Regions from separate parts of the Homo sapiens genome. Here regions 1, 2 and 3 are each linked to region 4. Evidence: promoter capture Hi-C in human tissues and cell types (Jung and others, 2019). All regions are on one chromosome and are shown on one strand. The core of a region is centred on a gene start or on the middle of the fragment in contact, and the rest is flanking DNA. Distances in the headings are between cores, read along the strand shown.

The links. The method cuts DNA at HindIII sites, captures the fragments that hold promoters and counts their contacts. A contact is called where the count stands out against the background at its distance.
Region 1: a contact is called between a fragment that was not itself captured here and the fragment with the promoter of MTIF2 in region 4, in 1 of the 25 tissues and cell types used here (lymphoblastoid cells).
Region 2: a contact is called between a fragment that was not itself captured here and the fragment with the promoter of MTIF2 in region 4, in 2 of the 25 tissues and cell types used here (H1 embryonic stem cells and hippocampus).
Region 3: a contact is called between a fragment that was not itself captured here and the fragment with the promoter of MTIF2 in region 4, in 1 of the 25 tissues and cell types used here (IMR-90 fibroblasts).

What each region holds. Positions count from the first base shown.
Region 1 is chr2:54,900,245-54,902,944 of GRCh38, reverse strand. The region is part of intron 22 of EML6 (EMAP like 6); the gene reads right to left. Among named protein-coding and RNA genes, the nearest start is that of RTN4, 150 kb to the left of the region's middle. The HindIII fragment of the contact is 4,274 bases long and covers 1-2,700 here.
Region 2 is chr2:54,975,344-54,978,043 of GRCh38, reverse strand. The region is part of intron 5 of RTN4 (reticulon 4); the gene reads left to right. Among named protein-coding and RNA genes, the nearest start is that of RTN4, 74 kb to the left of the region's middle. The HindIII fragment of the contact is 8,425 bases long and covers 1-2,700 here.
Region 3 is chr2:54,861,146-54,863,937 of GRCh38, reverse strand. EML6 (EMAP like 6) reads right to left here. Exons shown (of 42, transcript NM_001039753.4): 13 at 49-155. Among named protein-coding and RNA genes, the nearest start is that of EML6-AS1, 110 kb to the right of the region's middle. The HindIII fragment of the contact is 3,975 bases long and covers 1-2,792 here.
Region 4 is chr2:55,267,811-55,270,510 of GRCh38, reverse strand. It overlaps MTIF2 (mitochondrial translational initiation factor 2), which reads left to right and starts at 1,280. Exons shown (of 16, transcript NM_002453.3): 1 at 1,280-1,342; 2 at 1,772-1,933. RefSeq lists enhancers at 419-1,242, 1,188-1,337. The HindIII fragment of the contact is 5,929 bases long and covers 1-2,306 here.

The sequences.
Region 1 (2,700 bases), core at 147-2,646, 370 kb after region 4:
GACACGTGACTGCCTTTAAATTGACACTACACTTGTGAGAACTAAAACTTCCTAATTTAAGACACCTCTTGTCTGGGCGCAGCAGCTCATGCCTGTAATCCCAGCACTTTGGAAGGTCGAGGCAGGTGGAACTCTTGAGCCCAGGAGTTCGAGACCAGTCTGGGCCACATTCCGTAGGTTAAAAATTAGTTGAAAAGTTATTTTTTGTAGAGGCGAAACCCACCCTGTACAAAAAGTAAAGAAATAAGCTAGGTGCAGTGGCTTATGCCTGTAATCCCAGCACCTTGGGAGGCCAAGGCAGGTGGATTGCTTGAGCCCTGGAGTTCAAGACCAGCCTGGGCAACGCAGCAAAATCCCATCTCTACAAAAAATACAAAAATTAGCCAGGAATAGTGGCACATGCCTGTAATTCCAACTACTCAGGAGGCAAGGTGGAAGGATCACTTGAGCTTTGGAGGTGGAGGGTGCAGTGAGCAGTGATCATGCCATGGCACTCCAGACTGGATGACAGAGGGAGACCCTGTCTCAAGAAAATAAAATTAAGTATCTCTTCTCCCCAAGTCCAAGGAAAAAGATCATAATATCAAAAATACATTTTCAACTTCCATGAGGTTTATTCATTCATTTATGAGTATTTAAATACCTGGGGTTTCCAAAAAATAAGTGGGGTAAATGGAGAAAAGGAGTATAGGGTTAATAGGACCAGTATCTTTGCTTCGAAGAAAAGAGGTAATATTTAAGAATAGGAGTTCTATAATAAAATTTCCAGAAACCATTTTTTTTAAATATTAAGCCTTACATACAACTTGCTTTAGAGGACCTCATTCTTTTAGTTGCTCCAATTCTCTGATCCACGGATTGTAATGTATAACTCTAGAGGTGAAAGATGTTGTTCTTGCCTCTTCTGTCACGCGAAGAATGGAATCTGAACATTCTCCCAAGGGGTTTCTGGAAAACTAATTGGCACTAGGGTGATGGTGCTCCATGAACCATGTTCTCTACTCCTTTGTAGGGTCACAAAGACATTTCTGAATCAGGAGCATGGACTTTGCAAAGGTATGTCTAAAAGGAAACTGATTCAAGAACATGCCTACCCTCTGCCACCATTCTTATTGTCGAGCGTTGTAAGCACACCCCAGGGATAGGACAGCCAGGTGGCCTTGTGCCAGGGCATTTAATACCGAGCCTCTTTACCAACTCCTCTGTTCATGGTATGCTGAAAGCTGTGTTCATGCTCAAAACTGACGTGCCAGTACTGAGACAATGAAAATACAAGCCTGCCCTTGAAGAGCATCATCAAGATTAGGTTAATCACAATCTATCGTACAGACCAAGACACGTTTGAGAGTGAAAAGGAAAGCTATTAATAATTATACCAGAACAACAGGGGTAAACTGGGTTGAATGGTTATCCTATCTAAGATGGGTCAATAGTTGTTCAACTAATTTTTAACTTAGAGAATAAAGTCCATTCACTGACATTCAAGTCCTTCACAGTGAGGACTTGGCCTATCATTCCCCCGATATAAACTAGTAGCCAAAATGATTCTAGCCTGTAGTGATTACGAGCATGGGCTTTGGACTTAGATTTGGGAAATCCTGCCTCCACCATTTACCAATCCCCAGGAGCCTAGTGTAAAGACAGGCAACACGGCAGAGGGAAATAGTGTTAAGCAGTGGCCACAGGTGTGTTCTCACAGTCACACTGCATGGGTTTGAATTTGGTTCCATTACCTACTAAATGTGCAAACTAATTAAGCTTCCTGTGCCTCAGTTTTCTGATTTGTAAGTGGCAATAATAATAGCCTTACTCATGGGGTTCCTACAAAGACTACATGGAAAGAGCTGGCATAGTTGTTGGCTCAGCCATATTAGCCACCATCACTATTGTTACTACTGTTTTGACACCTTTCTTCATTTTATTACCCTAGAATACAATCCTCATGTCTGCTTATAAAATTACTCAGTACAAATATTTTAGGGTCAGACCTCAATTTCATCCTTCCCTCTTAAGAACTTTTACAGATCCTTCAAGCCTCAGCTCGTCACCTCTCTGATGAAGCATTTCCAAGCAGTAGATGTCCTCTGAGGCTCCAGGGTACTTTGTGCCAAATATCTTTAGTTTGTCCTTTCACATCCCCTTTTTGCCCTTGTCCACCCTGCTCTGTGCCTGAAGCTGGTCTGCATGGAGAGCATCAATGGGCTCCCTTGTCCTCTGGTTTCAGGTTGACTTTGGCCAACGGGGAGCACTGGTGGGAAATTAGAGAGATGGAGGAAGAATAGGGAGGCCGGGCCATTTATTTCCCTGGCTGCCTCCCGCAGGGTCACTGCATGCTGGCAGAGTCCCCTGCTATCAGTCGTGGCTTCTCTCAGGCTGCCATCTCATGTGGCTCTCATATTCAAGGTTGCAGCAATTGTCCTCTCCTCCTGTCCCTTCAAGCCCAGGGCCAGTGAGAGCAGCCGCCATTACTAGCTGCATAGTGCTGCACTATCCCTGGTCATTTCCTCATACCTTCCCCATCCCTTTATATAAATAGTCCCATTTTAAAGACTCTCCTCGAATTACCCAATTTGAATGGATATGTTGCTGAGACTCTGTTCAAGTCCTGTCTATCTCTGACACTAGAGATGGGACCATTCATCATGGGATCCCCTGTGCCTGCCACACAGAAGCTACTTAATAAATGTTTGCTGAATTTGT
Region 2 (2,700 bases), core at 188-2,687, 290 kb after region 4:
GCGGGGGCAGTGAAGGAGGAGCCTGGCCTTTCAAAATGTGATCAAAAAAATAACCAAACTCCAGGGCTCATTAGTCCTTTTATAAACACCGGTGTGAAATGATGGGTATCCGTGTGCCTGGTCCAAGTTTCCTGGTGGTTGACTTGGGCGAATAAAAATAAGACATGTTCTGCAGAGTTCTCCTTTTAAATTCTTGTGTAATATTCCGTTTGTTTTGCTCCTTTGCAATTAACTACAAACTTCTAAGTCCTAGAAAAGATTTCAAGTATTTATAGAGTGAGCAACGATCATTTTCCTAGTCAAATAGTATGGCAAAAATCACTGTTTTAAAAAGTTGTGGCATTAAACTATAAATCCTCCCTCCCCTCGCTTCCCACCCGCAATTATGAAAGAAAAGCATATGACAATGCCTACTGGGCTCAGCTTTTGGGCTAATTGAGTCTGACTGAGCCTTCTTAGCAGGTTCCTGTCTTTTGAAACCTCAAATCCCAAAAAGCTGTCTAATAATTTTACTTTTTTAGGGACTAAGACCAGGTATTTTCAGCAGAGGTTCTTACTTTTCTGTAATTGAGGCGCAACTATAATGTTCCAGAACACAATCTTAAATCTGAAAGTGAGAGGAAGAAAAAAAAAAAAACGGCCTGAGCTCCAGAAATAGCTGACCCAGAAGAACACTAAAATCTAGCTCTCAGGCTCATAGGCAGCTGTTAACATTCACATTTTGACAGCTTCCTTTCAGGTTTCTTGAGCTCTCAGAAAAATTAGAAGGAAGTGGGCTGGGGATATAGAGAGAGTCCAAACTACCAACTAATGAATGAATCTGAAGGAGACACAGAAGGGCAAGTAGAGTTTAGAGTTTGAGAGTGCAGGAAAGTTTTGAAATGGTCAGAACTGCCAGAGTAATTTCTGAGATCTTACTAAGCACTCTCCCACCGTTTGCCTTAAAGATACCCCTTCCCCCAAATTGAAACATCACAAATCTGCAGAGCTCTTTAATCAGGTGTGTTATACACAGTGAATTTAATTCTCTTATTGCCCTGGAAGAAAGATAAACCAGATGTGGCCCTTGCCCCTTTTCAGTAAGTATTTGTTAGATCTTCATTACATTTTAGGCCTCCTTCCTCCAGTCTCGATACTGTGCAATGGAGAGATAAGCTTTGACCTCTTCAGTTAATAAGTATTGGCTATAATGTTGCAAAGTATTTGCCATGGAATCGTGTAGAATTTGTTAAGTCCAAAATGAGAGCAGCCTGTTTGCTTCTTTAAAGTGTTTATTGACCTTATTCCTGCCATGTTACAAATCCATCATTTGTGGTGGATTCCCATTAATAATGGTTACTCTCTAGGTTAGTTCTTGCTGCCACCCCTTTCTCTCCTGGTGGTGTGTTCCCTGAATACACTTAACCACTATTTCTGTTTTGGGCCGCCGAAGTATTCAGTTTTCTCAACATAGCTGCAACATTTAAAAATTATATGATAGCACACAAAAGTGTACATTTCTGGCAACACTGGCCTGGAATATTTGCATGGCCACAGCGTATGGAGCAGGGTTGTAAGTGCCCCTTTGAGAGGAAGAATGCATATCACTGTGTGCCTCAGTTCTCTCCCAGCCTCTCACATACATGTATGTCACCTGCCTGGCCCTAAGGACATTTGAGACCTCCCTGTGTTCTTCTCTTTGTCTTGGGATAGCCTGGCTTTTAGGAAGTGTTCTCAAAGAGGCAAGTGACATTTGAGCCCCTACAGTGGCTCAGGTGTGAAGTCTTGGGCTTTTCCCCTGTGGACTTGGAGTGAAGCCTTGTCAGTGACTGTAATGACCAAATGAGGAGTTATTTTAGCTTGTGTTTGTTACTATCTTCTGTCATGTTAAGGGCATCTTCGTTGCTAGAGTAATTTCTTCTAAAATATGGAAGGTCAACACTTTTCCCTTTAGACTTGTGGATAGTGATGGATAAAAATAACTCTCTTACTCTATAGTAAACTTGCTCAAGTGCAAAAGTTATATTTAGCTTCAGCAATAGGAGTCTATAAAACTGTGAGAGAAAAGCCTTACTAACTGAAGTCATCCTTCAAACCTTTCTACCAGGGGTTCCAATAGCAATTGCTAAGAATACGGCAGCTTAAAAAAATTTTTTTTCAATTGACAGATATTAAGAATGCCTGATATTTACTGACTTGAACATTAGTTAAATTCAGTTAGGGTGACCAGAGTGTTGCTATTTGTAGAACTGTTGCTTGGTAGAGTCATCCAAAGTGTCTTCCTAAGCTGTAATAAATATGCTTACTAATGTTTGACTGCTTAATTAATGGTCAGTAAGCATTCAGTCAGAGTTCGTTTAATACATGGAGAAAGATATATGCTTTAGATCAAGGGTTAGCAAACCACTGCTTGTTTGGGCCACGGCCTGTTTTTGTATAGTGTGGGAGCTAAGAGTGGGTGGTGTACATTTTTAAAGGGTTATGACAACGACACAGAATAATATGAGACACAAACCCTATGTGGCCCATAAAACCTAAAATTCTACTGTCTGGCTCTTCACAGAGAAAGTTTGCTGATCCCCGCTTTAGATAATGGGGGTGCTCTACTACTCCCCTTTTCATTTATAGTGTTACATAAGCCTAAATAATCACTGTAGCTGGTGGCATCATGTTTGTTACCTACTAAGTAGGTCAAAGTGATTGCCAGACATACACATGAAG
Region 3 (2,792 bases), core at 36-2,535, 410 kb after region 4:
AGATCCCCTTCTGGGGTTACAAATTTTCATTGCTCCCTGCTTACCGACCTGGCGATCATAATTGATTTGAGCTTCTTGCTCAATATCAGAGTCCAGTTCGGGCACATCAGATAAATCTGAATCAGATTCTTCACTGTAGGAATCAGCTCCACCTTCTGCAGAGATACAACCCACAAGAAACAAGCAAAAATTCTGAGACTCTGAGCAACTGAAATTATCTAAAATATTTTTCCTTTTATCCTAGCAAAGTAAATAAAAACTATACCATAGTTTTCATTTAATATAAATTGTTAAAACATCTTTCTTTCACCTTTTGGTTTAGTTCAGCCCACCCTTCACTCCTTTCAGGAACATTAACAGACTAGGCCAACTTCCTTCCCCACACCACCCACCAGGCAGACTAAACTCATTTATACTTTTTTTGAGACAGGGTCTGTCTCCTAGGCTGGAACGCAGTGGCACAATCTCAGCTCACTACAACCTCCTCCTCCGGGGCTCAAGCAATCCTCCCACCTCAGCCTCCTGGCAGCTGGGACTACAGAGATGCGTACCACCATGCCCAGTTAATTTTTAAATTTTATTTGTAGGGACAGGGTTTCACCACATTGCCTAGGTTGGTCATTTACACATTTCTATTAGATAGCAGATACCTGGGTTTTAAGCTTTGTTTTGTAAAATGGGCAGGTTTTAAAAAGTGAAAGGCTAGGGCAAAAATAAACCCAACCATTTACTTCAATACAGATCCTCTTTAGCCTTTTAACCATGCCCACCCAAGTGTTGGTAATTGTCATGGCCCAAACCACCACAGAACTCTTGTCAACATTTATTCAAATAATTTTTCATTTTATCACCTGCTCATGCCTGCTGACATCAGAGATAAATGAAAAGACTACATACATGTCCACTGAATTGGAACACATAGGCCCCAACCGTGAACCACTGCTTGAGCCCCATTCTGAAGGCCACTTACATTTCAAAGGTTACCCTGTTCCCCTGCAGCCTGACTGAACAGACCCACTGCCTGTTACAATTGTCCTAAGGAAGCTGAAATGTATCCTCTCCTGTTATCCCCCAAGGGTTAATTCTTCACGTAAACCTTAGACCTTCAACTTGCATTTGGGAAATCTGCTGATGGTTTTATAGAGGTTTCCTTATGTGTGATGATTCTCTTTTCCCTGACTACTTATAATGCTCTGCCTTTAACTTTTGATCATTTAAGATGTTTCTTGGGGTACATCTTTTTGGATTCATCTTACTCGTGTCCTTTGCGCTTCCTAGATTTGGCTTTATTTTCTTTCCTAGGCTTGGGAATTTTTCTGCCATTATTTCCTTGAACATGTTTTCTGCCCATTTCTCTCTCTTCTCTTTTTGGCATGTTGGTAACACGTAAGTTGTTGGACCACCCTAAGTCTCTAAGCTATCTTTACTCTTTTTCTTTTTGTTTCTCAGATTGGATGGTTCCCAGTAATCTGTCTTTCCAAGTTCACTGTTCCTTTCTTCTGCTTAATCTAGTCTGCTGTTGAACCTCTCTATTGAATTTTTCAGTTCAGTGGCAGTACTCTTCAGAGAAAGTTTTTTTTTTTTTTTTTTTTTTTTTTTAGAGATGGAGTCATGTTATGTCACCCAGGCTGGAGTGCGGTGGCACAATCGTGGCTCACTGCAACCTTCACCTCCCGGTTCAAGCAATTCTCCTGCCTCAGCCTCCCCTGTAGCTGGGATTACAGATGTGCTCCACCTTGCCTGGCTAATTTTTGTATTTTTAGTAGAGACAGGGTGTTTCACCATGTTGGCCAGGCTGGTGTTCAAACTCCTAACCTCAAGTGATCCACCCGCCTTAGCCTCCCAAAGTGCTGGGATTACAGTCATGAGTCAACGTGCTCAGCCAATCCTCAGAGAAAGTATTTCAAAAGTACCAAAACTCATTGAGTAGTTTTAAAAAACACCTTCTATCTCTAAAGTTCTCAATTTGTTCTTATATTGCTCTCTTGACCTCAGTGAGGGTCTTTATGACTATTATTTTGAATTCCCTGTTGGGTAAATCACATATCTCTACTTAACTGGGGTTGCTTTCTGGAGATGTCTTGCTCGTTTATCTGGAATTTCATTTCTTCATTGTCACTGACACTGTGTGTTGGTTTCTGTGCATTAGATTAAAAAAAAAAAAAAAACAAAAAACCTCTCCCTATCTCGTCAGACTGGCCTTGTATAGGAGAAGGATCTCACCAATCTGACTGGCCAATGGTTTTAAGGTGCCTCTCAAATCTGTGTTTGTCCAGACTATTGTCTGTTTTGGTGGCCCCTAGAGCTTAAGATGTGCCATGTCCTGTTGGTACCGCAAGACTGTAAAGGGGGGAAGACATCAAGACACTTTTGATGTAGCTAGAAGGGTTGGAGGGTGGACTATGTGTTTCAATTCCTTCTATCTTCACAGTGAAGCTGAGCACAGTCATTTACCGCTCACTTTTTCTGCACTAAGCCAGGTAGAGAATCTGTGACAAATGCCTGTACTCACATTTAGGCTGTACCCTCTGATCCTGGGGAGATAACTCCTGAAGTGGGCCCATTGTACCTCTACCTCTTCATTTTCTGTGGTTTAAGTCCACTCAGGAATGCGAAGCCCCATCAATTTCCAGAGCTAGTTCATTAAGGAGACAGGTGGGAGCTATAGAAGGTGTGGCACTTGGTGTATGACCAAACTTTTTCCAGTAAGTATGGGTAGGCTTAGATTTATCACTGGGGCGAGCCAGAGCAAAGGCTCATGAAGTGCTGAGCTCTGGCTGCTGGAAGGCTAT
Region 4 (2,700 bases), core at 31-2,530:
GGAAGCGGAGTTTGGTTGCAATGAGCCGAGATCGCGCCATTGTGCTCCAGCTTGGGCGACAGAGTGACACTGTCTCAAAAAAAACAAAAAACAGTCTGGGAGAGGTGGCTAACGCCTGTCATCCCAGCACTTTGGGAGGCCGATGTGGGCGGATCATCTGAAATAGGGAATTCGAGACCAGCCTGACCAACATGGAAAAACCCTGTCTCTACAAGAAACACAAAATTAGCCAGGAGTGGTGGCACATGCCTGTAATCCCAGCTACTCGGGAGGCTGAGGCAGGAGAATCGCTTGAACCCGGGAGGCAGAGGTTGCGGTGAGCTGAGATCGTGCCATTGCACTCCGGCCTGGGCAACAAGAGCGAAACTCCATCTCAAAAACAAATAGAAACAAAAACACAACAAAAACCTTATTACAATCCTGTGAACTAGCTACTGTCATTACTATAATGTAGATGAACAAACTGGGACATGGACAGTTGACAAAACATTCCCAACCACACACTAGGAATGAGCTGGGATAGGAAACCAGGCACTCTGGCTCTATTACTCCTAATGCCATACACACGAGCTGACTTAGGAGAAAACAGAAAGTACTGTTCGCACAATACTAACTGGTTCTACCGCCACTGTTCGCTTGCATTTGTTTTTTCCTTCTTGTTAGGAACACGTATCTTTGAAGGAGGTATCATTTCTCCCACAATTCTCCATTTAACGTTTCCTACAGTGTTAAGCACCACCGAGGCCTCTCATAGCCCCAGAGAAGAAGTAATTTGCTTCCTAGAAATCCTCACTGTATCCAGATTCCCTCCCAGAGGAGCCATCAGTTCTCATGGGTGGCACTTTTTCTCCAGCTGATTACACTTTTTTTCTGTACCAGTTAATTTTTCCAACTTCTAATTGAATAAAGGCAGTTTTCTTAAAAAAAAAAAAAAGAGAAAGAAAAACGGAAAGGAAGGAAGAGGAAAGGAAGGAAGAAATGAAGAAAGGAAGGAAGGAAAGAAAGGAGAGGGACAGAAAGAAAAAAAGGAAAGAGAGAAAGAAAGGAAAGGAAAGTAAGAAATGGAAGGGACCTGCAGAAACGATTCACCACGCGCGGCTGACCCTGGGAGGAGCCACAGGTTGAACCAGCGCCTCCCAGGCTGGACGCCCGCCGCGGACACCGCAGACAGTCCCACCCCCAGCGGCGACAGCAACTCTCTGAATTCCGGAAAGAACCTTTTCCAGCGGGACCGGAAGCCCGGCGGGGACCGTAGCGGGGACGGACTGACCTACCGACCATTCTTCCGGGTCCAGAAGGTGATCTCCGCCCGTGCTCAGAATCCAGGGGCCCGGGGCTGTAGGTAGGAGTTAAGTGGGTAGGATCCCTTAACCAGGGTTGTCCGGTGCAGGTGGTGTGTGTTGTTTCGCCTAACGTGTCAGTGGCACAAATCACGCGAACTTCATAAACATTGTGCGTTCGGAAGCCTTTCCAAGATGCATTTAATCCCTGCGTGAGCCCACGTTAGGCATTCACGAAGGCATGTGCACTGTTCTCTCGGAAGCGGCTGGCCGGCTTCCCCTCCTCGCGCGCGGCTGTGGGTGCAGGTCCTCACTTCCCAGCCTCCCATGGGCCCAAGGCCTTCTGGGCTCCAATTTGAGGCGAGCCACCCCAGATCCGTAATTTTTCTGCAGTGATTTATTTTTACCTTTCTGGTAAGTTCCAAAGCTTCCAGCTCACATTCAGACGTTTTCCCTAACGCAACTACGTATTTGCAACATACTTTTTTCAGATTCCTTGACAAGGATATCCTAGCGGCGAAACAACACCGTACTGGGAGTCAGAACGTCTGGGTTCTAGTCTTGACTGCCATTAACTAGCGGTATGACATTGGAGAAGCTTTTTTGACCCTTCTGGATTTCCGTTTCCTTTTCTGTAAAATGAGGAGCTTGGAGTAAGTGACAAGTTTCCTTCCAGTTTTGACATTTGGGTTATTGCCTCCAATGTGTCTTTCCAGTTCCTGCCTCAATTACATATCTGTGCTTTGGTTAATATCTCGTAGGGTCCTTCCTCCCACTCCATTAATCTGTGCTCTTCTCAAATCTGGTTTCATACTGATTTAAAAATTATTTTCTCAAGGAATCCTGTGTTACCTGAGCACTCTACTTCTTGGTCCAGGGGCACAAACGTAAATAAGATATTTTCCATGTGCCATTCTTAGAAGTATTTAATGTGTGTAAATACTATTGAATGAATTTCCAAATCTTCTTTTTTTTTTCTTTAGACAGAGTCTCACTGTCGCCCAGGCTGGAGTGCAGTGGCCTGATCTCGGCTCACTGCAGTCTCTGCCTCCTGGGTTCAAGCGATTCTCCTGCCTCAGCCTCCCAAGTCGCTGGGATTACAGGCGCCCGCCACCGTACCCGGCTAATTTTTGTACTTTTAGTAGAGAGGGGGTTTCACCATGTTGGCCAGGCTGGTCTCGAACTCCTGACCTCAGGTGATCCGCCCGCCTCGACCTCCCAAAGTGCTAGGATTACAGGCATGAGCCATCACGCCCAGCCTGAATTTCTAAATCTTAATGTGTTTATTTCGTTGGCATTAAGTTAGATTTTTCCTTGATCTTTACTCGAATAAGCCTTTTAAGGTAAAATGCTTGCTCGATTACACACACATACACAACCTCATAATTGTCCGAAGGTAAACAAGTTAATGACTTGTGAA